Linked DNA regions of Homo sapiens: all the other regions are linked to region 1. Evidence: promoter capture Hi-C in 16 types of primary human blood cells and fetal thymus (Javierre and others, 2016). All regions are on one chromosome and are shown on one strand. Each heading gives the region's core, a stretch centred on a gene start or on the middle of the fragment in contact. The rest is flanking DNA. Distances are from core to core; before and after follow the strand shown.

The links. Contacts are between HindIII fragments. The CHiCAGO score rates a contact against its expected background, and 5 or more counts as called.
Region 2: a contact is called between a fragment that was not itself captured here and the fragment with the promoter of GABARAPL1 in region 1, in 2 of 17 cell types (total CD8 T cells and naive CD8 T cells). The highest score is 5.3, in total CD8 T cells.
Region 3: a contact is called between a fragment that was not itself captured here and the fragment with the promoter of GABARAPL1 in region 1, in 1 of 17 cell types (neutrophils). The highest score is 5.4, in neutrophils.
Region 4: a contact is called between a fragment that was not itself captured here and the fragment with the promoter of GABARAPL1 in region 1, in 5 of 17 cell types (naive CD8 T cells, total CD8 T cells, naive CD4 T cells and 2 more). The highest score is 7.0, in naive CD8 T cells.
Region 5: a contact is called between a fragment that was not itself captured here and the fragment with the promoter of GABARAPL1 in region 1, in 7 of 17 cell types (naive CD8 T cells, total CD8 T cells, neutrophils and 4 more). The highest score is 7.8, in naive CD8 T cells.
Region 6: a contact is called between a fragment that was not itself captured here and the fragment with the promoter of GABARAPL1 in region 1, in 1 of 17 cell types (total CD8 T cells). The highest score is 5.1, in total CD8 T cells.
Region 7: a fragment that was not itself captured here is called in contact with the fragment with the promoter of GABARAPL1 in region 1 in 1 of 17 cell types (neutrophils); the score reaches 6.3 in neutrophils.

The regions. Positions count from the first base shown.
Region 1 is chr12:10,210,364-10,214,494 of GRCh38, reverse strand. GABARAPL1 (GABA type A receptor associated protein like 1) reads right to left here and starts at 1,618. Exons shown (of 4, transcript NM_031412.4): 1 at 1,276-1,618. The coding sequence starts at 1,365. It overlaps GABARAPL1-AS1 (GABARAPL1 antisense RNA 1), which reads left to right. Exons shown (of 3, transcript NR_170310.1): 2 at 126-441; 3 at 533-846. RefSeq lists a silencer at 1,486-1,745 and an enhancer at 1,839-2,381. The HindIII fragment of the contact is 15,130 bases long and covers 1-4,131 here.
Region 2 is chr12:10,581,602-10,585,698 of GRCh38, reverse strand. No RefSeq gene overlaps it. Among named protein-coding and RNA genes, the nearest start is that of MAGOHB, 30 kb to the left of the region's middle. RefSeq lists an enhancer at 3,723-4,097. The HindIII fragment of the contact is 5,981 bases long and covers 1-4,097 here.
Region 3 is chr12:9,790,691-9,794,438 of GRCh38, reverse strand. No RefSeq gene overlaps it. Among named protein-coding and RNA genes, the nearest start is that of CD69, 32 kb to the right of the region's middle. The HindIII fragment of the contact is 568 bases long and covers 1,193-1,760 here.
Region 4 is chr12:10,623,137-10,626,702 of GRCh38, reverse strand. STYK1 (serine/threonine/tyrosine kinase 1) reads left to right here. Exons shown (of 11, transcript NM_018423.3): 8 at 1,844-2,052. Among named protein-coding and RNA genes, the nearest start is that of MAGOHB, 11 kb to the right of the region's middle. The HindIII fragment of the contact is 2,973 bases long and covers 571-3,543 here.
Region 5 is chr12:10,602,206-10,606,197 of GRCh38, reverse strand. It overlaps MAGOHB (mago homolog B, exon junction complex subunit), which reads left to right. Exons shown (of 5, transcript NM_018048.5): 5 at 1-2,005. Among named protein-coding and RNA genes, the nearest start is that of MAGOHB, 9.4 kb to the left of the region's middle. The HindIII fragment of the contact is 3,342 bases long and covers 69-3,410 here.
Region 6 is chr12:9,808,350-9,811,985 of GRCh38, reverse strand. It overlaps a transcript of KLRF1 not described here. Among named protein-coding and RNA genes, the nearest start is that of KLRF1, 17 kb to the left of the region's middle. The HindIII fragment of the contact is 590 bases long and covers 1,298-1,887 here.
Region 7 is chr12:9,858,811-9,862,758 of GRCh38, reverse strand. It overlaps CLEC2B (C-type lectin domain family 2 member B), which reads left to right. Exons shown (of 5, transcript NM_005127.3): 2 at 186-260. The coding sequence starts at 188. Among named protein-coding and RNA genes, the nearest start is that of CLEC2B, 8.6 kb to the left of the region's middle. The HindIII fragment of the contact is 4,734 bases long and covers 1-3,617 here.

The sequences.
Region 1 (4,131 bases), core at 369-2,868:
CAGGAAAGTAATTTGTAAAGGATCCTTTCCCGAGTAAGGGATTAGCTCACCCCTCTATAAGCTGAAAACCTTTTTGTAATTCCTGGGGAATGAAGAGCCCTAATGACTTTTTTTTCTTTTTAAAGGAAAAGGGTTACAAGAGGTTTCTACTGCTGGGCTAAGGCCCTGGTGGCTTCTGGTAGCTATAAAACCACGAACGTTAGGTAAGGATTAGAGAAGAAACCCAGAGTGGCTGTGAGTCAAGAAAAGACATCAGATAACAGCAATTATTTTACCATTATGTGACACGTAATACTAATGTTCCTACCTGAAGATAAAGAGCACAATTTTAAAATCTCCGCTCCTCCATTTCCAAAATCCAACAGCTGCTGGTCCCCCTACCACTTAAGCCATATTCTGCCCTCCAATTCGGCTGCGCAGCCTGCATTAGAGAAACACCAGGCAAGTGGGCGGGGGAGGGGGTAATGGGGAAAACGCCCGGATGCTGAAAGATACCTAATACTTTTCTGTTCCTACTCACTGCCTGCGGTAGTTTTAACTACTTAAGCCGGTGTCCAAAACGGAGAAAAAACGTCTCAGTCCTGCCTTATCGCGACCAGGTACCAGGTGATCAGAAATCAACACGAGGAGGCTGGCTGTCCCCACACAAGCCCCGGAGCCTAGAACGATGAGGCAAGAGGGCTGTTGGGCAGAGAACGTGACCTTGTTTTCCAGGCCAGGACTGTCTTGTGCTCCCCTAACCCCCTGTAATGCAAGAAAATTACTGAATAGCTTCTGAACCTTTTCGTCCCAAGACCAATGATATGAGAGCCAAAGTCAACTTCATTAAAGGAGAACCAGCCAAGGCAGAAATCGACTGGGTTTGCGCAAACCTCACCGCACAGCACAATGTCCCTGCGTTCTTAAAGGCAGCCAATCCATGGCCCCGATCTAACCAGTCTCGCCCACAGGGGCCCTATTTTGTGCACCGCAACCCACACACGGTCTCAGCTGCTGAGACCGTGTGTGGGTTGCTGAGTCACTGAAGACGGCGGCTCGGCCCCCAAAACGCCGTCAGCCCTGAAGTGGGGTTCGGGGCCCAGGCATACGGGGTTTTAAAAGCTCTACAGTCTGGACGTCCATTGGCTCTGGCACTGAAGGGCGTTCAGGATTAAGTAATTCTCGGAACCTCCCTTCTCCAGAGCCGCCTGGGCGCCCCAGGGAAGCCATCTCGACTACCCGCCCCCGCCCCCGCGGGCCCTTCCCCTCCCATCCCCTCCGCTCCTCTACACTCACGGGGACCCTGTCCGGATATTTCTTCCGGATCTTTTCTCCTTCCTTTTTCCGATACTCAAAGGGATGGTCCTCCTTGTACTGGAACTTCATGATGCACCGCAGGGCTTCCGAGATCCCCGCGCGGGGCCTGCCTCCTTCGCCGCTGACCCTGTCCCGCTCCCTCAGCCGACGTCAAGGTGTGCTCAGAATAGCTGCAGAAACGTCCGCTCCGGGGGCAACAGCGCTGGGCCGAGTGTGCAGGGGGGGTTCGGGGCGGGGATCTCGGGTGAGCCTGCCTGGAGGTAGAGGAGAGCCAGATGGAGAAATACCGGCGGCTTTTCGCTAGAGCTGGGAGCACAAAAACAGCTGGGTGGCGCGTCGGGCTGTGACGTCACCCCGCGAGCCCCGCCCCGCCCCCCATGCGCCAGGCGCCCAGGGCAGGGGGTGGCCGAGCGCTCTGTCTCACTGCGTTTCCTTTCTGGCTAACCTTTTTCACAATCGATGTCACTGCAAACATCAAAACATTCGAGTTATGTTTTATTTTGTGACTGTGAAATTAAAGATGGTTTTAAGACAAAAAAAAGATTTAAACATGTTTTATTCCCCCTCCACTGTTTTTCTTGGTTGGGCCCCAAAACAAATACAAAAGGCGAAAATCCAGCCTTTTCCTGCTGGTTGGGATCCAGCCTCAGGAGAAAAGAGGGCCAGGCCTCCTGGGATCCCTTTGGCCAATGCAGAGCTGTCCCGTGCTTGCACCGTGCCCTCTGCGCGTTCCGCTGCCCCTCCCGCGGCCCTCCTCCCGCGCTGGCGTCACAGTGTTTGGGCGGTGCCGCAGTTCGCTCCTGAACAGCAACATAAACAGAGCGTGACTCAGGAATCTGAAGAGAGGAGTCAGATGAAGGACACGGAGTGTAATCAAAGTCTAAAGGAGACATGATGTCAGTAAGGACTACCGAGGGCTTCACGTACAATCAAATATAGAAATGATTCACTTTCTAGCCGGGCGCGGTGGCTCACGCCTGTAATCCCAGGAGGCCGAGGCGGGCGGATCACCTGAGGTCAGGAGTTCGAGACCAGCCTGACCAACATGGAGAAACCCTGTCTCTACTAAAAATACAAAATTAGCTGGGCGTGGTGGCGCATGGCTGTAATCCCAGCTACTCTGGAGGCTGAGGCAGGAGAACCGCTCTAACCCGGGAGGCGGAGGTTGCGGCGAGCGGAGATCACGGCGTCGCACTCCAGCCTGGGCAACAAGAGCGAAACACCGTCTTACAGAAAAAGAAAGGAAGGGAGGGAGGGAGGGATTCACTTTCTGCCATAAACTCAGAAAGGGGGCTCGTCTTCTGGAAAAGAGAGTATCAAGCAATTTAGGTGATGACCTCAGTTGTTCCCCCACATCTTATTTAGTTCCAGTGGTTAGGTATCCCTCACGTGACTAGAAAGCGCTGCCTGGAATGCTAGTAGAAGATTGGGCATTAGGGCAGGTGAGGCGAAGCCTCGTTCTGGATTTCCCCACCTAGAGTCAAAGAAGAAAGACCTTCCAACCAGTACTGTAGGGCAGCGACAGGGAGGACTGTGGAGTTTGCAAAGAAAAAGAACAGTGAAAAGGGGCTGCGTTGCCCATACAAGTCGGGTGAGTTCTGATAAATATTAGATAACAGCAGCCCCGTGGCCTATCTTCTTCAGTCGGGGTCTCAGTGTCTCTAATTTTAAAAACACCCACAGGGGGCCAGGCGCGGTGGCTCACGTCTGTTCTCCCAGCACTTTGGGAGGCCCAGGCCGAGGATCGCTTGAGCTCAGGAGTTCAAGACCAGCCTGGGTAACATGGCAAAACCCTGTCTCTACAGAAAAAACAAAAATTAACAAGGCATGGTGGCGCGCTCCTACAGTCTCAGCTACTGTGGAGGCTAAGGCAGGAGAATCGCTTGAATCCGGGAGGCAGTGGCTGCAGTGAGCTGAGATCGCCCACTGTACTCCAGCCTGGGAGAGAGAGCAAGACTCTGTCTCAAAAAGAATAAATAAATAAAAATAGGCCGGGCGCGTTGGCTCATGCTTGTAATCCCAGCACTTTGGGAGGCCAAGGTGGGTGGATCACGAGGTCAAGAGATAGAGACCATCCTGGCCAACATGAGACGAGTGAAACCCCGTCTCTACTAATAATACAGAAAAAATTAGCTGAGCCTGGTGGCGCTCGCCTGTAGTCCCCAGCTACTCGAGAGCCTGAGGCAGGAGAATCACTTGAACCCGGAAGGGAGAACCCGGGAGGGTTTAACTATATTTGCATCAAAACTAAAATGAGGCCGGGCGCAGTGGCTCACGACTGTAATCCCAGCACTTTGGGAGGCGGAGGTGGGTGGATCACGAGGTCAGGAGATCGAGACCATCCTGGCTAGCACGTGAAACCCCGCCTCTACTAAAAATACAAAAAAATTAGCCGGGCGTGGTAGCGGGAGCTTGCAGTGAGCCAAGATCGTGTCACTGCATTCCAGCCTGGGCGACAGAGCTAGACTCTGTCTAAAAAAAAAAAAAAAAACCTAACATGAGCGACTGAAAATTAAACTGTTTTCAATTTGAAAGTAAGACTTAAAATTATAAACATATAATGTGATAAAATAACTCATGGATTTTATTTATTTTATTTATTTATTTGATATGGAGTTTCTCTCTTGTCGCCCAGGCTGGAGTGCAATGGCTCCATCTAGGCTCTCTGCAACCTCTGCCTCCTGGATTCAAGCAATTTTCTCCGGCCTCGTCCTCCTGAGTAGCTGGGATTACAAGGCGCCCGCCACCGCGCCCAGCTAATTTTTTTGTATTTTTAGTAGAGACGAGGTTTTGCCATGCTGCCAGGCTGGTCTCGAACTCCTGACCTCAGGTGAT
Region 2 (4,097 bases), core at 282-2,781, 370 kb before region 1:
AGATAAATCTCATGTGGTTGCAGTATATTATATTCCTTATATGTTGCTGAACTTAATTGGGTAATTTTTAAAGGACTTTTGTGTTTATATTCATAAAAGATATTGGTCAATTTTTTTTTTTTTTTTGAGACCTAGTTTCACTCTTGTTGCCCAGGCTGGAGTGCAATGGCGCAATCTTGGCTCACCACAACCTCCACCTCCTGGGTTCAAGCAATTCTCCTGCCCAGCCTCCCGAGTAGCTGGGATTACAGGCATGTGCCACCATGCCCAGCTAAGTTTTTTGTATTTTTCGTAGAGACAAGGTTTCTCCATGTTGGTCAGGCTGGTCTCGAACTCCCGACCTCAGGTGATCTGCCCGCCTCGGCCTCCCAAAATGCTGGGATTACAGGCGTGAGCCACTGCGCCCGGCCCCAGATATTGGTCTATTTTTTAAAAATTTTTAATGTTTACAGTATAGGGAAGACACTGGTCTTATATATTCATTTGGGATATTTTTTAATATGCTTCTATTTTTGAAAGTTTTTTTTTTCAGAATTTGTATTTTTCTTTCCTTATATGTTTGATCTAATTTACCAGTGAAATAATCTAGGCCTGAGCTTTTCTCTGGGAGAATGTATTTAATTAGGAATACTATTTCTTTAACAGACAGGGCCATTTAGACGTTCTGTCTCTTCTGTCAATTTTGTTAATCTTTGTCTTTTAAGAAACTTGTTTCATTTGTCTACATTGTCAAATTTATTGGCATATTGTTCTTCATAGTCATATTAGTTTCCTAGGGCTACTGTAACAAGGTACCAGAAATTTGGTGGCTTAAAACAACAGAGATTTATTCTCTCACTGTTCTGGAGGCCAGGAGTCCAAAATTAAGGTGTTAACAGGACCACTCTCTTTCTGAGGCTCTGGATGGAGTTTTCCTTGCCTCTTCCTAGCATCCAGTGGTGGCTGTCAGTACCTGGTGTTACTGCACTTTCAGCTTCTTCCTCAATTTCTGACTCTGTCATCACATGAATTTCTCCCTGCATATCTCTGCCTTCACATGTGGTTTTCTCTTTTAATAAGGACACTAGTCATATTGGATTAGGGCCCACCCTAATGATCTCATGTTAACATGATTACATCTGCAAAACAACCCTGTTACCAAATAAGGTCACGTTCACAAGTATGGGGGTTATGATTTAAACATACATTTTTGGAGGACATAGTTCAACCCATAACAATAATACTCCTTTATTATCTATGTATTTACTGTCTGCAAGACCTGTAGTTATATTCTTTCTTTTCTGATATTGTTGTATTTATTTGTCTTCCTTGATCAGTCTAGCTAGAGATTTATATCCATTTTATTAACCTTTTCTACTTATTTTGAGTTTAACTGCTTTTATTATCTTGACTTCATAAGTGAAAGCCTCTTTTCACATATAACTATTTGAAGCTATAAATTTCCCTTCAAGTGCTATTTTCCTGCATACCACAAATTTTGTTAGGTAATTGTTTTTGGCTCATGTCTTAAAAGTATGTTGTTTAGGCGGGGTGCAGTGGCTCACACCTGTAATCCCAGCACTTTGGGAGGCCAGGGTTGGTGGAACACTTGAGGCCAGGAGTTGGAGACCAGCCTGGCCAACATGGTGAAACCCCGTCTCTACTAAAATACAAAAAAATAGCTGGACAACAGAGCAAGACTCTGTCTCAAAAAAAAAAAAAAAAAAAAGTTGCTTAATTTCCAAATATTTCAGGATTTTCCAGATACAATTTTGTTACTGATTTCTAATTTAATTTCTGTGTGTCCAGAAAATATACTATATTATTTTAGTACTTTAAAATATGTAATACTTGTTATATGTCCTAGTATATGGTCCCATCATGATAAATGTTCCATATATACTTGAAAACAATGTGCGTTTTGCTCTATTGGAATGGAGTGTTCTATAAATGTCAATTGGGTGAAGGTGATTGTAGCTTTGTTCAGATCTTCTATTGTCCTAATGATTTTTTGGTCTAATTATCAATTATTGAAAGAATGGTTTTTAAATGTTTAAATATTATTTTTACTTGTCTACTTATCTGTTATTTTTTTTTTTTTTTTGCTTCACGTATTTTAAAGTTTTGTTCTGTCTCATCCACTAATCTATGTGTTCTACTAGACCTTAAAATTGATCTTTGTTTTTTATATGTTGTATCCACAGTGCATTAAAGGGTCTTTTCCTCAGTAGTCACTAAATAAATATTTGATGAATGAATGAATTATACCCATGGCATAGTCCTGGGAACTAAAATATCAGTTTCTTGGTACATAGTTGTTTTAGTCTGTTTGGGATGCTATAACAAAATACCATAAACTGGGTAGCTTATGAACAACAGAAATTTATTTCTTACAATTCTGGAGGCTGGGAAGTCCAAGATCAAAGTGCTAACAAATTCAGTACCTGGTGAGGGCCTGCTTTGTGCTTCACATATGCCCATCTTTGCTGTGTTCTCTAGTGGAGGAAGAGGCAAGGGAGCTCTCTAGAATCTCTTTTATAAGGACACTAATCCCATTCATGAGGGCACGAGCCCCATGACCTAATCACCTCCCAAAGTCTCTATCTCCAAATAGCATCACACTGGGGATAAGGTTTCAACAAATGAATTTTTGGGGGACATAAATATTTGGTATATAGCAGTAGAGAAGAGTTTTTCAGTGTCCATAGAAAAGAAATTCTATCATTAAAGAATTTTAATAAATTTGTAACTCAAGATTAGATTTTCTTATTTGACTAGAGTAGGATGTGGTGATGATCTCATCTCAGCATGAAACAGGAAAGGTTGAAGCGTCAAAAATGGATTAAAAAATACGCAGTGGTAATGTTTCATTTTCATCTTTGATTTTATTCATTTCGATCTTCTCTGTTTTCTTAGTCTAGCAAAAGGTTTGTTCATTTTATCTTTTCAGAAAACTAACACTTTGTTTTGTTGATCTTCTGTATTTTTTAGTCTCTATTTTTTCATTTCTGCTTTAATGTTTATGTTTCTTTTTTTAAAAAAAGTATTAAGTTCTGGGATACATGTGCAGAACATGCAGGTTTGTTACATAGGTATACATGTGCCATGGTGCTTTCCTGCACCCATCAGCCCATCATCTAGGTTTTAAGCCCTGTGTGCATTAGGTATTTGTCCTAAAGCTCTCCCTCCCCTTGCCCTCTACCCCGCAACAGGCCCCAGTGTGTGATGTTCCCCTCCCTAGGTCCATGTATTCTCATTGTTCAGCTCCCACTTATGAGTGAGAACATGGAATATTTGGTTTTCTGTTCCTGTGTTAGTTTGCTGAGAATGATGGTTTCCAGCTTCATCCATGCCCCTGCAAAGGACACGAACTATTCTTTTTTATGGCTGCATAGTATTCCATGGTGTGTATGTGCCACATTTTTTTTATCTTTATATGTCGTTCCTTTTAATTTTGGATTTAGTTCTTGTTTATTCTGATTCCTTGAGGTGCAATGTTTGGTTTATTTGAGATCTAATTTTTTGATGTAGGCTATAAATTTCCTTCTTAGAACTCCTTTTATTGTATCCCATAGGTTTTGATATATTGTGTTTCCATTTTTGTTTGTCCCACTATATTTTTAATTTCCTTTTAAATATATTTATTGACCCATTTGTTCTTCAAGTTCCTCCTGTTACTAATTTCTACTTTTATTATATTATGGTCAGAAAAGACACTTGATATGATTTTGATATTTAAAAGAAATTGTTGAGACCTGTTTTGTGTTCTAACATATAATACATCCTGGAGAAAGTTCCAAGTGCTAATGAGAAGAATGTGTATTCTGCAGCTGTTGGTTGGACTGTTTTGTAAATATCTGTTAGGTCCATTTGATCTAGAGTACAGTTTAAACCTGATGGGTTTATTTTGGTTGATTTTCTGCGTGGATGATCTGTCCATTTTAGGAAGTGGGATGTTGAAGTCTGCTACTATTATTGTATTACAGTCTATCTCTCCCTTTGGATCTAATAATATTTGCTTTATATATTTAGGTGTTCCACTGTTTAGTGCATATATATAGTTGTTTCTCAGTATCACTGGGGAATTGTTTCCAGAAATCCTTGTGTGTCCAGAATTG
Region 3 (3,748 bases), core at 227-2,726, 420 kb after region 1:
ATATTAGTCAAATCACACAGCTGTGACAAGAGACAGTAATTTCATCATTGTCATGATACAAAGGTGATTCCGCTGTTACTAACAGGATTTTACAATCCCAGCCCACTTAGTGCTCATATAAACACAGATATTTTAAGAAAAACAATTTGTTGCTTCACTGAAATTCAAGGTACGTTGGGTTCTATATTTATTCTTCTTATTAATGTTCTCATTTTATCTTCTTTTAAATTAATTCAATTATTTGCTAGTTTGACATATTTTGTATTAGGCTTTTCTTATACTAAAAAGTGTAACAAACTATGACAATAACCTTGAATGAAATTGTAAACCGCCAATACCTCCAAAAATACCCTTGAAATTTGTAACTTCTTGTTTCTAAGAAAAGAAGTTAAATTGACTTCCTATAAATTACATAGTTTTGTGGTGAAATGAAGAGAAACGTGTATAGGAAACAGATGCGTAGGAGTTACTTCCTTATTTGGTTGCAAATGAATTCTGAAGTTTCGAAGAAAGGTAGAAGGTGAGTTTTCCTAAAACCAGGACATTCAAAAACCGTTCCAACATCCAAAGCAAGACTGAGAAGTATATTTCCTACAACTGGTTTATCACACGGCTCCTTAGCCCCTTTATTAGAACTTTTCCTTTTATCACCTTGTGTAATTGTGTAATCATATTATTTTATGATCACTTTTTTTGCAGGTAAAATGCTTTATTTATAAGGCTTATATGTATAAAATTCAACTGTAGACACACAGGTCGGAGACTATGTTAATTCATTTTTTATCTCCCATGGTTCTTACTTTCCTGATATTCATCGTGAAGCATGGGGCAATAGTACTTTTTAGTATTAACATGTAGGTAAACAAAGATATTTCCTATTTTATGCATCAATTTAATATTTGATATGTTCTGCTGTACTTCTGGATACAAAGTGCTCCTTGATTTTATCATTCAATTCCATTTGACTCAGTACACCTATGACTCAAACCAACCATGTGGTCAATGGAAAAAACACAGAGATACGGCCTTAGCCACTATAGTCAAAGGTATACATTTTGTCTTTACAGCCACTTTCCTGTCTATTTCTTTGGAAAAAATCATTTGCCTACATAATATGGTCCTGGGAGGTTTTCAGTCAGAATATACCATCCTCCTGGTTGAAATGATTACTTTAAAAATGGCAGATGAAGCTTCCAATGCAATAAAATATTGATCTACATACTCTGATGACAGTAAATAGAACTATGTTTGCTTTTTATCTGTATGACTCATGTTTATGGTTTCCTACAAAATGTTCATTTCTGTGTGTTTATCAGAGAGTCAAAACATTCCTTATGATTATCCCCCAAAAAATGCCAGATGCAAGGAGTTGGAGGAGCAGATCTTGTTGAGATACAGGCTGCAGAGAAATTCCGTTTGCTCATTCTTTTGTAGTATTGATTGGTATGGCTCTTAGGGAGTAAAATGATATGTATCATCCAAAAAATAAATACATCAAGAATGATATCCCAATTTTTTGCTAGGATTTGTCCCCAAATTTCTTCAGGCTGTGTTACAGGTCAGGTTCCTCAAAAACAGACTCTCAGATGAAGGATTACATAAAGGATGTTAAGTACCTGTGGATGAGAAAGAAAGGATTGGGCAAAGGCAGATATTGAATTGTGATGCAGTAACACAAAGGCTTCAGCTAACAGTATAGGGAGCTCTGGAGGTGAGTGCCCTTTCAAGTTTATCTTGATATAAGGCAACAAGTCCAAGCTTTTATACTCCCACACGAACCAGCCGTTTGATACATCTGGCACTGGGAGAAAGTGTGACTTTGAGAAGGCACTTCTGTTTAGCTGAGAGCCATACAAGGAAGATTCAGTTGAAAGCTTCTGACTCCCAGGTGCTGAGACAATGAGGCTTCAGTCCAAAGTGGAGACACACCATTGCACCCATTGTAAATGGAAAACCAGTTTTTAAATCAAAAGATAAGGAAGACATATATATATATATACACACACACACACACATATATATACATATATACACACATATATGCAGATAGATAGATAGATAGATGGATAGATAGATAGATAGATAGATAGATAGATAGATAGATAGATAAATTTTCCTGATCAGACTCCTTTGCTTAGGGCTAGCAGCATATATCCAAAAGTCCATTAAAATATCCAACTCAATCTCCCACATATTCCAGAAACAAAAGTGATCATTTTGATTCTTTTCTAAATCTAATTTTACCCCCTAATTTCTGACTCATTTGAAAGAATACTGCCCACAGTTTTAGGAATCAAAGCATGAAGGCCATCCTTGACTCTCTGTCTGCATTTTTTTCTGATTAAATGACCCTACCTAATAAATCATAGACTGTAATGACTAGTAATGTCTTTAATTCAACAACTTTCCATCATCTCTACTTCCACTGCATTGGTCTTAAAGGCAGTCATCTCTCTATGGTATCCCTTTATTCCAGTTCATCTTGCACCTGTTAGACTGAGTAACTTCCAAAAATTGCACCTGTTAACTTCCAAAAATTAATATCTAATTGCAATTTGTCCCAAATTTATAAGAATTTATTACTTTCTTTCTGCACTTAGAATAATTCCAGACTATTTAACAGCATTGATTTCACCCTGTAATCTGGCTTTGTCTCTTGTTCCATTCTTCAGTCTCACTGTAGTGGACCATTCTTTCTCCCATCTCTAAGACTTGTACATTTTACCCTTGTCTACAAAGTTGTTGTTGTTGTTGTTTTTCCTCTGCCTTATTCACCTGGAAAACTGTCTCATCTTTCACTTCTCAGATTAAATATTTACATAATTTTATAGAATGCCACCTTGAGAATAAATTCTCCAAGATGTGTTCTACATGCCCTCATAATTACCTGCTTAATTGTCTTGCCAGACATGAGCAGAAACAGTGGAATAAAGACCTACAAAAAGCTATTCCTTCATAAAATCAACAAGAACATTGACAAAAACTGTCAAAACAAACTTCCTCAGAATACTGTGAATTAACCAAAGACTTGCAAAAATCTGGCAAGCATTTACTCAAGAAAATAGGTGAATTTAATTGAAAACAGTGACCTTTGTGGAGATTTAACTTGCTCTATTCCTATTCCGTATTCCTCAGCTTCACAGTAGCCTTGAAAAACTATAGTAGGTCTTACAACTATAGTAGCAGTAGTGAACTGTAGCCCAACAGGTCTCAGAGGGGCCATAAAGGGTTTAGAAGTCCCAAAAATTATTCTTAGAGTACTGTCATTATTCAAACTATCAAACATGATCTTGGAAATTCCCACCTACGACTTTAGTTGATCTCAAACAGAGCTCGCTCAGTGCAAATGACTTTTTCCCTAGGGGTATTTGACAAAAACAATCAGCACCTATTGCTGTACATTGCAGCTGCTTAATATGGAATAACAGCTGGGGCAAAGGAAAAGCTGACCAAAAAACTTAAGAGGGAAACTTAAGGGATGGGCTGCCTATAGTAGTTCATTGAAATGATACAAAATATTGATACAGCTTCAATGAATGGAGGAACACCAGAGTCCTTTGTCTCACGCCAATTTAGATAAGACAACATGGACACACATGGAGTGGTTTTAAGGAACAGAGAGTTTAATAGGCAAGAAAGAAAGAAGAAGCTCCCAGCTACAGAGACGGGGGGTCGGTGAGGGGTGGGGGTGGCTCCAAGCAGAGAGAGGAAACCCCAAGTATGGTGGAAACAATCTGTTATATTAGAA
Region 4 (3,566 bases), core at 808-3,307, 410 kb before region 1:
TAAGAGAAAGAACTCAGGGTTTAAGATAAAAAATTTACCTTTACCAGAATTACCCAGGAAGTTTATATGTCTATTTCTATGAAATTATTTAAATGGTTGTGTTTAAAATTAACATTTGCTATGGAAAATCGGGGTTCTGTGAAGCTACTGTTTTAAGTATTTGATATATCTTGCTACTTTGAGGTGTGAAATATAGGGATGTAAGTGGAATCAGGAAAAGGTTAGAAAAAAAGGATTAAGGTGGGTAAAGAGTAATAGTTATGGTTGAAGCTCCCATGGGACAAGGGAGAGTACACATCATATACGTGAATATTGTCTATGGTGTTTGAATGGCCTCGTTGATATGTTCCCTTGATAAAGAGTGTCAGGATACAGCCTACCCTGTATTCAGAACCGCAATTGCAGAGGCGCCGTCCAGGGATGAATTGGTCAAATTGGTGCATTCATCAGGACCCTATGCTACCTGTTACAAGGCAATATCATGCTATTTTTTTCTTACTTTTAACAAGCTCAAAGTCAGTTACATTCTTTAATTCTTATCATGGCACTATAATTTCTTATTTTAAAGCTTCACCAGGCACAGAAAACTGCTAGTTTTCTTTGTCATCAGTGATTGGAAATTATCACCTTTACCTTCTAATTTTCTATACCATCCTTTTTTAGTAATCACAGCCCTCAATATCTAGATCTTCAGTCATGTATAGTTTTGCAACTTTCTTCTTATGCCTTGAATAGGTTGATGCCATTGGAAATTACTCCAAAAATCAATTATCATAGGGTGCCATGGCTCTCCGATGCTCTGTTGGCTGTACTAGAATTTGATACATCTTAAAAATGTCGGTTACCAGGTCTTTCTTCCTACATTTTGGTTTATTAAATCTGGGGTGAAAATCTTATGTTTAAAAAGCTCTCAGGCAATTCCAATATGCAGACTGACTTGAAAATTTTTAGTAGAGTTTATATAGTACATCCTATGAATTATAATACCTGGTTCTGGTCACTACTGCTTAATAACTCTGTGGCCTTTTGTAATCATTTAGATTTATCTAAAAGAAAATTTCTGAATTCAACCCATGCAGTTATTTTAGGGGAAAAAGTGAGATATGTATATACATTTTTCATTATGATACTCAATTTTGGTACGTATTACATTGTTTTGAGGACTACTGCTAGAAACTTGGAATCAGGCCGGGTGCAGTGGCTCATGCCTGTAATCCCAGCACTTTGGGAGGCCGAGGAGGGCAGATCACAAGGTCAGGAAATCGAGACCATCCTGGCTAACATGGTGAAACCCCGTCTCTACTAAAAATACAAAAAATTAGCCAGGCGTGGTGGCGGGTGCCTGTAGTCCCAGCTACTTGGGAGGCTGAGGCAGAAGAATGGCATGAACCCAGGAGGCGGAGCTTGCAGTGAGCTGAGATCCCGCCACTGCACTCCAGCCTGGGTGACAGAGCGAGACTGTCTCAAACAAACAAACAAACAAACAAACAAACAAAAAAAGAAAGAAACTTGGAATCTACTCCCTTTTCCAGTGTCTAGCTGGGTCCTTTCTCACGGGAAACGAAAATCAGGCAGGGGTCAGTGTTTGAAACAGAGGTGATTATATTTTCAAAATCCAGTATTAATGTCATTTGAATTATTTGCTCAATTTGGTAATCCTAAACACAATGCAGAAATGTGCAGTTCATTAGCATGCTTTGGAAGTGACATATCATTATTAGTGAGACTTGTTCAGAGTAGAAAATGTCCTTGTGTTTTTGAAGATTCCTAGGACTGCCTCTCCTTGTCTGTGACCCAAGCTGTGATCTCAGACAGCTGATCATATTTGATTTTATCTTGACAGGAATTCCTGCAGGAGAAGCATTTGTTCCATGGGGATGTGGCAGCCAGGAATATTCTGATGCAAAGTGATCTCACTGCTAAGCTCTGTGGATTAGGCCTGGCTTATGAAGTTTACACCCGAGGGGCCATCTCCTCTACTCAAACCATACCTCTCAAGTGGCTTGCCCCAGAACGGCTTCTCCTGAGACCTGCTAGCATCAGAGCAGATGTGTACGGTTTATTCCTGGACTCTGAGTTTACTTTCTTCATGACTTGGGTGTTGTCCCTGAATATGATTTGATCTGTTGCCAATTCTGTATACGAATATAATCTCTACTTAGAAATCAGACATACTCTCAAGCAGAAATGTTATGTGACAGAGTTCATGTTTGTCATCTGTCTGCAATCCTTTTTGGTACTTTTTCAACTTTTTCTTTTCTTTTCTTCTTTTCTTTTCTAAGACAGGATCTCACTGTGTTGCCCAGGCTGAAGTGAAGTGGCATGATCACAGCTCACTGCAGCCTCCACCACCCAGGCTCAAGCGATCCTCCCACCTCAGCCTCCCTAGAAGCTAGGACTACAGGCATGCACCACCCTGCTTGGCTATTTTTTTTTTCTTTTTTTTTTAGAGACAAGGTTCACCATGTTGCCTAGGCTGGTCTAGAAGTTCTGGGCTCAAGTGATCCTCTCACCTTCGCCTCCCAAAGTGCTGGGATTACAGGCATGAGCAACCATGCCCAGCCTCAAGTATTTCTTCTGTATTAGATTAGCAGCCTTAATTAGAAAAAAAAAAAGTGAAAAGATTATTCACATCAATATCTGAGGACTTAATCTAGTAAAGTCTGTTTTATCTGAAGGAATAACCAAAAGGCCAGTTAACCCATACATTGTTAAAATAAAAAGAAATATACATACCTTCAATAACTTATTTTAACATAAAACTTATAAATGTACATTATCTGTTTTTTTCAAGGAGGGGCAAGGCTTCTTTTTATAAGGATGAGTTTCCCAAATGAAGTTACACGTTGTTCTTTTAGTGTAAATAGTATCTTTTAGTGTAAATAAAAATGATTTATTTTTGAGTTCCAGTTCAGAATGATTTTAGGTAGCATGAGAAACCTGAAAATAATTGTGAAATTGTTTGACTGCAGACTTTTGATGTTACTTTTCCCAATTTTCTAAGTTGTCTCCCTCACACAATTTGACAAGACTTTCTTTTTCAGCAGTTTATTTTTATAAATCATTTTCAAAACATTCAACTTAGTTTTCAAAACATTCAACTTCCTTCAAACTTTGTTTGAAGGAAGATAACACTTTTTTGCATTTAATCCATATATAAAATACCTAATTGATTATATAACTACATATAATTGCAATTACATGTAAAATTGGCATTAACAGGATCATAAAGAATCACAATTGACTTTTGGTAGCCATATAACTCAATTGCTTGGAGAAGTGCATTGATGTAATGTAGAATATCCTGCTAGCCATGAATGCCATGAGCAGCAGAGGAAATTTAGAATATCAGTTAATATGATGAGTCAGTTATGAGATTTCCATTGTTGCTTCACTGACATCTGCTTTTCAATAGACATCTGGGGGTAATAAACTTAACTGTAAAATATTAATCATTCAATAATGATATTACAGAATAGTGAACTATACACCTCTCAAGTCATATTGCTTAGGCAAATACCTATTTCAACTATATATAAAGCTTGCCCTGTTAATATTTTTCCTAG
Region 5 (3,992 bases), core at 490-2,989, 390 kb before region 1:
TTATGAATGTGAAGCAAACAAAAAAAATTTGTATGTAAACTGAAAATAAGAAAATACATTAGCAAGCTTAATGGTTATCCTTACTTGAGTCCATATGGGTTGGACAGTCCCCACACACATTAAATTCTGTAAATGAAAGCCACCTTTTGTTAAAAATTTGCTCTAATAAAACATACCAAATCCTGGTTGCAGAGTAGTTTTTTGTTTTTTCCAGGAGGCTATGTCTCTAATTCACTTTAGAGATAATAAGAAATTGTTCTGGTAGATATATCCTGTGACAGAAGATACTTTAGGTGGAACTATGTAGCCAGATTCCCATCCATGAAAGGCAAGTGTAGATTGTCCCTTATTTCCTTCATACATGATTGGATTTAATTTTGGGGGGCTTATACAAGGTCTAGTTTTTTTTTACAGTTATGACAAACCCCTCAGGGATTATTCACATTTAAATATTTTCAGTTATAAGCAGTGAGGTCCTAAAGTGTTACAAGAGTACAGTCTACCCCATGTTAGGCATATCTTTGATTATGTCTTTATTCCTTATTTCACAATGTATTTGGTGTGTAGGGGAGGGGGGAGAACTAAATGAGTTTTCAGCTTTATAAATTGTTAAACATTTAGACAAACATATATGTATGTATGAATGTACATAAATATTTTTAACTCCTATTGACCACGAGTCTCACTTCAGTTTCCCAGTTCCTTTCAACCTCTTTCTGATAGATTTCCTCTTTCATTACTTTTAGTAACCATGTTCCTTGTTTCCTTTTATTCTTCCATCTGAAGCCCCACTCTTAAAAAGTTGCACTGTTCCAGTAGTTATAATCCACTTGCCCTAGGAACAAGTTAGCACTGAATTTTGGGTGGAATAATTAGTTTCTGAAGGCTTGCCAGGACTCCTGAGCAGGTAGGCTCTAGAGTCGGGCAGTCCAATAACTTTTTTGCAATAATGGAAACGTTCTATGTGCAGTCCAATAGGGTAGCAACTGGCCAAATGAGGCCTACTGATTACTTGAGGTGTGCCTTGTATAACTGAATTTATGGTGCTATTTAAACAATTTTTTTCTAACGTGAAAAGGATAAAACATTAAAAACTCTTGAGAACTATAAAGTGAACACCTATATGCCTACCCCTACCTAGATTCTATACTTAACATCTTTTTTACTGTAATATCTCTATTATAATAAATCTTGGTTTTTCACTTAACTGGTGTAATTGGTGCCAATAAACTACTTTTTTTGTAGTGCTATTTAATTTTGATTAAATTTAGGTAGCCACGTGTCTAGCGGCTACCGTTTGGACAGTATAGCTCTAGAGCATGGCTTGGTAACCTGTTTGCCATGGAGCACTAGATGGTCCTTTTCACTCCTCAAAATGCATGCCCATTGTCTTCAGGTTTGCCATGGAAAGTCAAATGATTTCCACTTCATTATGCAAGTACGCTATCATCTTCAGGTCTTTTGTATGTAAAATGTTTCTGTTCCAGTTGTAGACCTTGATGATTGTGCAGTATGAAATCGTATTGTAATTTTCTTGCATTTAGATGTCAACCTCAGAAACAGGAACAATCGTCTTTTGAACTTCCAGTAGGCCCACAGTTGTTGGTTGTTCCTCAAAACAGGTTGTGGCTCCTGTTGAATAAGATGATCCATTAAAAACTGAACAAGGTTGAGGAGAAATAGTGCTTACGTTGAAAAATCTTTAAGTCTTTGTCCCCGTTCTCTAACTTCCTTACGTTTTCGTTTATTTAGCTCTATCCCCACTATCTACTAGAATTTCTCATATTTAAACCAAGATGGGAGACTAGGTCATTAGGAAAATATTACCGTCTACAATTTTCTTATACTTTGATCTGTCTTTTATTTGATTGTAAGTTGCTGATGGACAGTGATCATTAGAAACTGAATTTTGTATAATACTAGTTTTATATGAAACTAGATTTTTATTGCGCTCAGGTTATGTTCCTTTTACCTCCTTCCTTAATAAAGAGACCACTTGAAATAATCAGACTTTTTCCAAGTACTGTCTGCACCTCATCCCACCTCTTCCCCATTCATGAGATAGTGCAGAACCCTAGCACAGTCTTTTCCATATAGTAGGTGTTTTTTAAGTTTGTTGAATTGGTTGCTGTCTTGCTCTGTCCTTAGATTATTTGCCTTTAGATTATTTATCTTTGGTATTTCATTGGTATCAGGCTGAGTCTATTTGTATGGATATTTTTAATGTAAATATTAATGTAACTGAGATGATTTATATATTCTATTGTTAGACTACTTCGTTTTGATTTGAAATGTGTGAACCTATGAGCATGGACTGTGCTGTAAGTTTAACCACTGACCCCTTTAATTAATAACTGGATTCCTAGCATGAATGGATAATGAAGTCGAATAGAAAATTTTAAAAATTTAATAAACAACAAAGGTAAATGAAGGATTTGAGGGTGAGTTCAGAATCTGCCTTGGCTGACTTCCGTATGATGATCAGTAAAGTTGGATAACTACCACTCAAAATCTCTGGCATCTACCTTGTCCTAATTTGAACTGTGTGATGTGGTGGAGAGAATACTAATTTAAGAATCAGAAGTCTTAATTACAGATCAGCTTAACTATTTTCTCTTAAATTGCCATCGGGAATCCTTTTTTTTTTTTGCCATTATGTCATCATAGTTAACTTAGTTCCTGAGGTGGCCCTCTTGTTTGGTTTCTCAGAAATAAGAGGAAGGATGGTTGCTGTTTGATCAATTACTAGAGGTTCAGTTGGGACAATGTATGTTAAACTTAGAGCATTTGAATGTATTTTACTGTAAAGACAAGAAAGACAAACAGGGTGATTAGGGAAACAGAAAATCTCAAGCTAGAGATTTTTTTTTTTTTTTTTTTTTTTGAGACGGAGTCTCCCTCTGTCACCCAGGCTGGAGTGCAGCGGCGCGATCTCGGCTCACTGCAAGCTCCGCCTCCGGGGTTCATGCCATTTCCCTGCCTCAGCCTCCGGAGTAGCTGGGACTACAGGCGCCCGCCACCACGCCTGGCTAATTTTTTGTATTTTTTTTAGTAGAGATGGAGTTTCACCGTGTTAGCCAGAATGGTCTCTATCTCCTGACCTTGTGCCTGCTTCGGCCTCGTTTTATCTTTTTCTTTACTATAAGAGCCAGGAAGTTCAGTGTCATGCAGTGGGATAAAAGTTAGGCATTAGAACAAATAAAAAAGGAGATGGCAACTTGTCTGGGTGAGGTTAGTCCTCCCAGTGAAGTGATTCAGACCATCTTCCCTGCATGCTAGGGGTTTTTCCAGACATCCTTCATTTTAGTCTGGGGCAGGAAGAGCAGTGTGCTGCTGTGAAATGATAAACCACTGAGGTTTGACAGTGTGACCCGAAGGTTTGAAGGTGTGACTAGAAGCTGTTCTAAGCTTCTAGCTAACGGTATGGTCAGAAAGGAATGAGTAAAATATGTGGTTTCCTAAATAAAAAGGGCTTTTGCAGGAAAGGAGCCAGAAGATGAGCAAATTAATACTTCATATATTCATATTTGTGTGTTATGTGCATGTTTTGCACAAAAGTGAATTTGGAAGGCAAAGTACCAGAACATTCAAAACTCTGTATATTTCTCTTCTGTTTTATTAACTGGATGTGATAAAGTTTAATACTTCCAACTTTGTGCCTCTTTAATCAAAAGGCCAGGTAGGGAGTTTCAATCTCATTTGAAGTTACTGTTATCTTCTGGTGCTGATTGTGTTTTCCTTTAAAGGAGAAATTTGCCTTTTCCAGCAATTCAGAGCTTGGTAATAAAGAGAAAACAGGGGAGCAGCTAGAAAATTTGGCTTTCCCGTCGTCAGTTTCATTCTGCCTCTTTTCAAAACTATGAAGAAATCTAGATTTTATAGTCAGTTCCTTTTAACTTGATCCACTTGGTTCATGAGGTGCACTTGTAGGCATCATGCCTCTTACATGTGCTGCAGTTTCAATAATGAATAAGACAGACTTGTGGACTTTA
Region 6 (3,636 bases), core at 343-2,842, 400 kb after region 1:
GCTATAGTTCACCTTTTGAGGTAAAGAGCCAAATTCCACCCGATTTAATGTTAAAACACCATCCCAAAGTGACCGTGGGGTGCATGTTACATCTGCTTACCCAATGCACTAGTGCTTGACTTCCTTCATGAATATTCATAAGTATTCACAGAATTTTCCCAACCCTGCTCAGTATGTATGTAAAACTGACTGTATAAGACATGTATACCAGCCCCCTCTCACTTCTTCAGAGAGTGAACTTTCGGATTTTCCCGAAAGCTGCATTTCCCTAATTCTAGGGTTATTTTTCCCTCTGAAAATAAAGTCTTCTCCTTTCCTTCCTTTGTGGATCTCATGGTCTTTTGATAATGAAGATAATAAAAGATCCAATTCCGCCTAATATCTTAAGTCCAACTTTTATCTAATTTAACACTTTTCCTCTCTCTCAGCTTGGATTGGATCTGCTTAGTTTGGGACCATTAAGGGGGCAAGTGAGTATAACGGGCTCTGCATGAGCTTCTTCCCTCTCTAGTATCTCTTTCCATTCCCCAACCCTGATCCCCAGAATGAGTGAAGGTGAAACAAAGGGAATAGAAATAAACACGGAATAAAGATGTTACCAGCCTGGACAGTTTTAATCTGTATGCTGACACTCCAAATGTTTTCTCTCTTTTTTTTTTTTTTTTTGGACTACTTCTATGGGTTTTTCAGAAATTCTGCTCCTGGGGTACTCTGCAGTTGTCTGATGTGTGATGTCTCCTTTGGCAATCCTGCTTGCAAATCACTGTACCTCACCCCTCACAACTCCCCAGGTACCTTTTTTTTTTTTGCTTTCTACTCTATACTTCCAGCTTCTTTTCATTGAGGCTGACTTGCCTGTGGTAAGAAGCAGTCTTAGGTGAATTTTATTTTAGGATGGTTCCCAAATGGCTGCTTTGTATGAGATCTTCATCCGGCCCACAGGAAACACTCCCTTCAGCCTCACCATTGCTGGAAGTGTGGCTTAATCTACACATCTGCTTTTACTCTGTGGTTATGTGTAGTTCTAACAAACTCACATACTGAAAGTGTTCACCTCTGCAACCTCCAACTCCCAGAGGACACTTGCCAATATATGACAGAATCCAAACTTGGCTTAAGGTAAAAGAGAAGTTCTTTTGCTTATTGACACAGAAAGATATTGGGAAATGGGAAGTACACTGGCAAGTCACTTCATAAAAAAAATTCTCACTTCCTAATCTCTGAACACTCATAAACTCTTAATGTGCTCTGAAAGTAGATGATAGATCGAAATTTGAAATAAACACTTTTGCAAGCTTGTTAGCATGTCCTATATAGGAGGTCTAGCACCTATAGAATTGTTCTTGACATTTGTGCCCTCAGATAAAAGTAAACAGCAGGAATGACCACATTTTAATATCCTACTAGTCATTCAATATTTATGAATTATTTTCTGAGGACTTATTACATGTCAGACACTGTTTGGGGAGTCTATTTTAGACTTCAAACATCTTTTAAAAACAAACATTTCATTAAACTATAGGTGAAAATTTAAGCATATAGTCATTAAGTTTGTGAATCAGACCTATCTTGGAGAGGAATTTAATTTGTTTAAATTTATCAAAGGACACACAAAAGATAAGCCCTAGTTATTCTAACCACTTATTAACACAGCTACCTGCGATTTCTGGGAGCTTAACTTCCGTTCAGGCTCAGAAACTCTAATTTTGGGAATATACTTGGACCACATTGTTAATTTGGGAGGATTCAGATAAAGTATGAGAAATGCATTCACATTTGACTATGAGAACATCAAGTTATATTGTATAATACCAAAAATAATGGTCCCTTGAATATATCCAGGATGACCTACAAACAGAATTGTTCCTAGATAAAAACCCTCAAGCTTGTAGAAAATCTATGTTGACACTCACTATTCAGATGTTGTCATTCACAACTCTGAGTTTCAGTGATTTAATGATGAAATTTAGGACTGAGAAGCTTGTTTCTTGCAGATTTATCAACCTTGCTAATTGATCTTTATGTCATTCTCCTTTTGTATACTTCAGGTAAATAAATAAATATTTGATTTATTCATGGGGTGATTTTGTTTGATACATTAATCCATAGGCACAGTCAATATTTTCAAAACAGTAGTTTTACATCAAATAAAGCAGCATTAAAAAAAACAGATTTATCAATAGAATAACAACTTTTGAAAGTGGAACTTATTTTTTTAAATCAATTTTCTTAACCTAAGTTTAAATCTAAGTAACCCGCTTTTTCCAACAATAATAACAATTTATCTTTGAATACTACACAAAATCTCATGACATAATCAAAATTAACTGGGGTATATGGATGCTTCTTTCAAGAATTGGTATCAATTCTGCCTTCTGGAGCCAGTAAACTAAGCGTAACATCAATATGACAGCTGTTGGAACAATTTACGTTAACAAACTTATTCCCAGCAGCCCTTTTCCTGATTCTGGCTAAGTAGCTTTAGTTCCTGGAAATAATACTTAAGTTACGGTTTCAACTAATTCAAATCCCTGTTTTTTCTCATCTGTACTCTTAAAAGTAGGCATTTACATATGTGCATGTATGCAGAGGAAAACTAAGAGAAAGTTAAGATGGTTTGAAACAATCACATAAAAATTATTTCAAAGAATTGGGCCAGGAATGGAGGAAAAAAGTCCCACCCTTTCTTTTTAGATATATTTGTATTGATTTTACCTAAAATTCATTACTTCACACAATCTTATTTTGAGCTTGTTGGTCATTGAATTTCCCCTAGTGCTCTTGCATACATCTACAAATAAAGGCAATTCTTCCCATCTTGTTAACTTCTTCAGTTTAGATTTTAATACACTTAAAAAATTCATCTCGCTAAACTCTCAATTTTCTCCGAAATGCAGAATGTTTGGAGTTTATGATTCTATTACTCAGTGTATTAGATATCCAAGTTGTATGTCATCTATACATTGAATATATTAACCTAAGCATTTATAAAATGTGGAGTAAGAGAGAATGAAATGCAAAACATTCTGGCATATAGAAAATGATCTCTCTCCTAACTAATGGCACCTAACCTGAGGTAGCACTGCTTTCATGTAGATATTATAGCATTCTGTGGCATACATCTCAGTGAAAATCATATACATGATACATTCATTGTTTTCCAAAACCATTAATGTGATAAGTCTTTTAACACCAAGAATACGAGGTCATTCTAGCATGACTTGCCTGCTTACTCATATTACACATATGGATATTTACTAAGACTTAGCTAACTATATTTTTAATATTGCACTCTGCCAACTCTTGCCTAAAGCTCTTTGATTCAAACGTCTACCAAACCAAGGCTGCATGATTGCAGCATTCTGTGGTACATGGAGAAACTACTGTTAGCATTCACTCCTGCTTTTGGGGAGGATGCGGGTCTTTTTTGAGCCTACTGTTTTCTTACCATCCTGTCATTGATCTTTAAGCTAGTTAACTTTAAGTGAATATATTTTCTAACATATTAGGATATATAGATGATTACCATGAACCTAGTTACCTGTTATTACAACTAGGGCATAAGTTCTAATTATTTGAAATCACTGTTATTCTGAAAAAAAAATCAAAAAGCAAGTAAATTTGACTCAAAGAAGC
Region 7 (3,948 bases), core at 1-2,500, 350 kb after region 1:
TTTCACTTTCCTGTGGCTCCAGGAATTGTCTTCTTCTCATATTTGAATTCTAGGATATTGCTGGGGATAATCACAGCACTAATATTTTGTTGTTGTTTTCTGTGGGGGACATTAAAGCCAACTTACTTTTATGCCATCATTTTGGAGCCAGAAGTCTCCTAAATGTCTTTATTTTTATTTTTCAGGTATGATGACCAAACATAAAAAGTGTTTTATAATTGTTGGTGTTTTAATAACAACTAATATTATTACTCTGATAGGTAAGTTACATCCTTCATTTTATTTTTCATGGCTTTCTATGTGTGATCCTATTCCTTTCTGTCTCAGTCATGATCTTTTCTCAGTATCTCATTATCTTCCCATTATACATGATAACATTTAATTGGTACAAATGAATAAATTTTATTAATTACATGACCTATGTAAGGCATCAGAGATACCAAAATTATTGTGGTAAAATTATTCACCCTGATAATCTCACTTCTATTCAACACTTTCTTGCCTATGTTAATCACTATCTTGACTTCTATTGCTATAGCTTAGTTTTGCCTACTAAAAAATTTTATATAAATATAATCAAATTTAAATACATATAAAATACAATATACAATTTGCATGTATCATAAATACAGTCATGCAATTTGCATGTATCTTTGTATCTTTTCCCTTTTATTCAACATTATGCTTGTGTGATTTTTCAATGTCATCATAGGTAGCAGAAGTTCATTAACTCACTATTATGGAAAAAGGTTGAAATTTTTTTTATAAAAAGACCCAGATAGTAAATATTTTATGCTTTGTTAGCCATACAGTCTCTGCTGCAACTACTTAATTTTTCATAGAAACACAGTCATAGAAAATGCATAGACATTGACCATGGCTGTGTGTCAATAAAATTGAACATGGAAATGTAAATATTATAAAATTTTATATGTCACAAAATATTGTTCATTTTTAATTATTTTGATTACTTTATTTCTTTTTAAAATGTAAAAATTATTTTTACCTGGTGGTTGTACAAAAACAGAAGGTGAGCTGAGTTGGCCTCAGGCTGTATTAGCGGATGTTTAGTATAGTGCATTCACTGCTATGTATCACTTTTGATGAACATTTGGATCGTGTTACATTTTGACTATTGCAAATTGGGTGGTTGTGAACAACTGTATAATTTTATATTTTTGTCTTTTAATGAATACTGGAAATAACTTGAGATATAAGAAGAATTATTAAGCACAGAATACGCATAGATTAGCTTAAGTGTATTTTACCAAAAATGTAGATAATCTCAGCAGAAGTATATGAGAATTCCAATTGCTCCATGCCATGTCAATACTTTATTGTTGGTTTTATCAATTTTTGCCATTCCAGTGAGTGCATGTTGTTACCCGATTTGGGCTTTAATTGACGTTTTTCTGATGATCAATACTGTTCAGTACCTTCATAATTGTTGTTTATTTAGGTGTAATATTTTGTGATGGGAATGTTTCAATACTTTCCCCATATTTTAGTAAGTTAGCTCTCTTTTTCTGCTTGGTTCATAAGAGTTGTTTAATATTCTAGATGAGACTCTTTGTAGTTTATAGGTATTGCAAATATCTTCTTTAACTATGAAGCTGAAGTTTACCCTCTGTGTCATGTCTTTCAATCGACAGAGCTTCTGAATTTTAAAGTAGTGTAATTGTGTCTTTCTCTATTGTCACTATATTTTTCATTCTAAGAAATTCACTTTACTTCAAAGACATAAAAATATTTTTGTAGGGTTTCTATTTTCCTTTCACTTTCCAAAATATAGTCCTCTTGAAGTTGATTTTTATAAATTTTAGGAGATAGATATTAGGATGCATTATTTCCCATTTAGTTAATCTTTCAACCTGAAATAACTTATTAAAAAGACTATACTTTCCCTACTCAACTGCAGTTGGTCTTTGTCATCAATCAACTGTGTAGGTGAAGGTCATTTTTGCTAAAATTTTATTACATTAATTTACTCTATTTTATCTATCTTTGTATCTATATCATTCTGTCTCAATACTGTTGGTTTATAATTAAGTCTTGATGTCTGGTTGTTTAAATGTTTTAAAAGTTTTATTTTTATTCTTCAAGTTTACCTGGAGCATTTTAGATCCTTTAAGCTGCCATATAAATTATCTGTAATTTTGATTGAGATTGCATTAAACCATAGTCAATTTTCATGGAATCATTATCTTAATATTGAATCATACATTTAAAATATTGATTCGGTGTTCCGTAATTTCTGCCAGCAATTTTTTAGTTTTCAGAATAGATTTCACACACATCCTTTTAAGAATTTTTTAAAGACTCAATGCGCTATAATGCAATTGTAACTAGCATAGAAGTATTTTCATTAACACTATTGTCCTATTTAGTCTCTTGCTGGCCTATAAAAATTATCTATATAAATTTAATATATACCTATATAAGCCTCATATAACAAATTTGCTATAGTTAACTATTCATTTTCATAAATTTTCTTCAGTTTCTTTTGCAAGTTCTATGTAAAAATTTACATTATCTGAAAATAATAATTGTTTTACCTATTCTGTTGGAAACCTTATGCCTTTTTTATTCATTGTATTCTCTTATTTTACTGGCTATAACTTCCAGTATAAGGTTGAGTATAAGTAGTAACAGCTTACATGTTTGTCTCATTCTTAAATCAGTAAAATTTTTTTAATATTTCCCAATTTAGTAGTAGTATTTGCAGATATTCTTAATCAGATTAAAGGTGTTTTATTTACTTCCCTTTAATTTAATTTAAAATATCAAATGCTTTATCTTGATCTATTGAGATACTTTCTTTTCTCTGCTAATATGTAGAACTACACAGATTTTGTAATATTGAGATAAGATAATCTTCAATTTCTGTGATAGATTCAACTTGATCATAACCTATTAACCTTTTAACATTCTTCAATTAAGCTGAATAGTATTTTAAGATATATGCACATATATCCTACGTCTTCATAAAAGATCTACCTATAGTTTCTCTTTCTTTCAATACTATTATCAGGTATTGATGTGATTATGATGGCTTCTAAAATTTGGTTGGAAAGTATTCCCTCCTATCCTATTTTCTGAAAGAGTGTGTATAACGTTGGTGTTATGCCTTTCCTAAACGATTAGAAGTATTTCTAATTGAAGCCATCTGGACAGGGAGATTTCTTTTTGTGCAATTTTTTAAGTTAAAGATTTAATTTTTTAACTAGATATAGTGTTATTTAGATATGCTGCTTTTATCTTGTCAGTTGTGTTAAATTGTGTTCTTCTAGAAATTTCTCTACTTTTTCATTCTTTGTGTTGCTAATTTGTGTTTTTATCTCTCACAGTTACATTTTTTAAAATCAGTTTTCCTAGTGGTCAATCCTGTTTTAGAGTATTCAACAAAAGTCATCTTATGACTTTAAACTTTTCTTCTATTTGGCATTAATTTTTTATTCAATTGATTTCTGTTCTTTTTGTTTTCTAAATTGTGTCTTTCTACTTTGGTTTTAATTTATCACTATTATTAACTTTGTAAGGTAGGATAATTATCTTTTCAAAAAGTCTTTCATCATTTCTAAAACATAATCTTAAGCCAATAAATTTTCCTGTAAGCTTTAAGGGAGTTGCTGTGTCCCACAAGTTTAGTTGAATCCCATAAGTTTGGATGCTACTGTGTTTTGAGAAAGAACATTGAAGACACACAGGATTTTGATGTAAAAGATTATGGTCACAGCAAAATTTGTATATCATATAACAGGTTGAAAAAAATTTATGTCTTGTCATGTTAGGTCAGATGACAGTAGTTTAGGATTTATTAGGGCATTTATATTCCTTTCAACTTCAACTTCAGTGATATATCTTCCTGAAGGCACCAGAATTATTCTATTTGTAAAGGTCATCCTTACCATTTCTGGGTAAATGAACTATAATGAAATCCTAGCATTA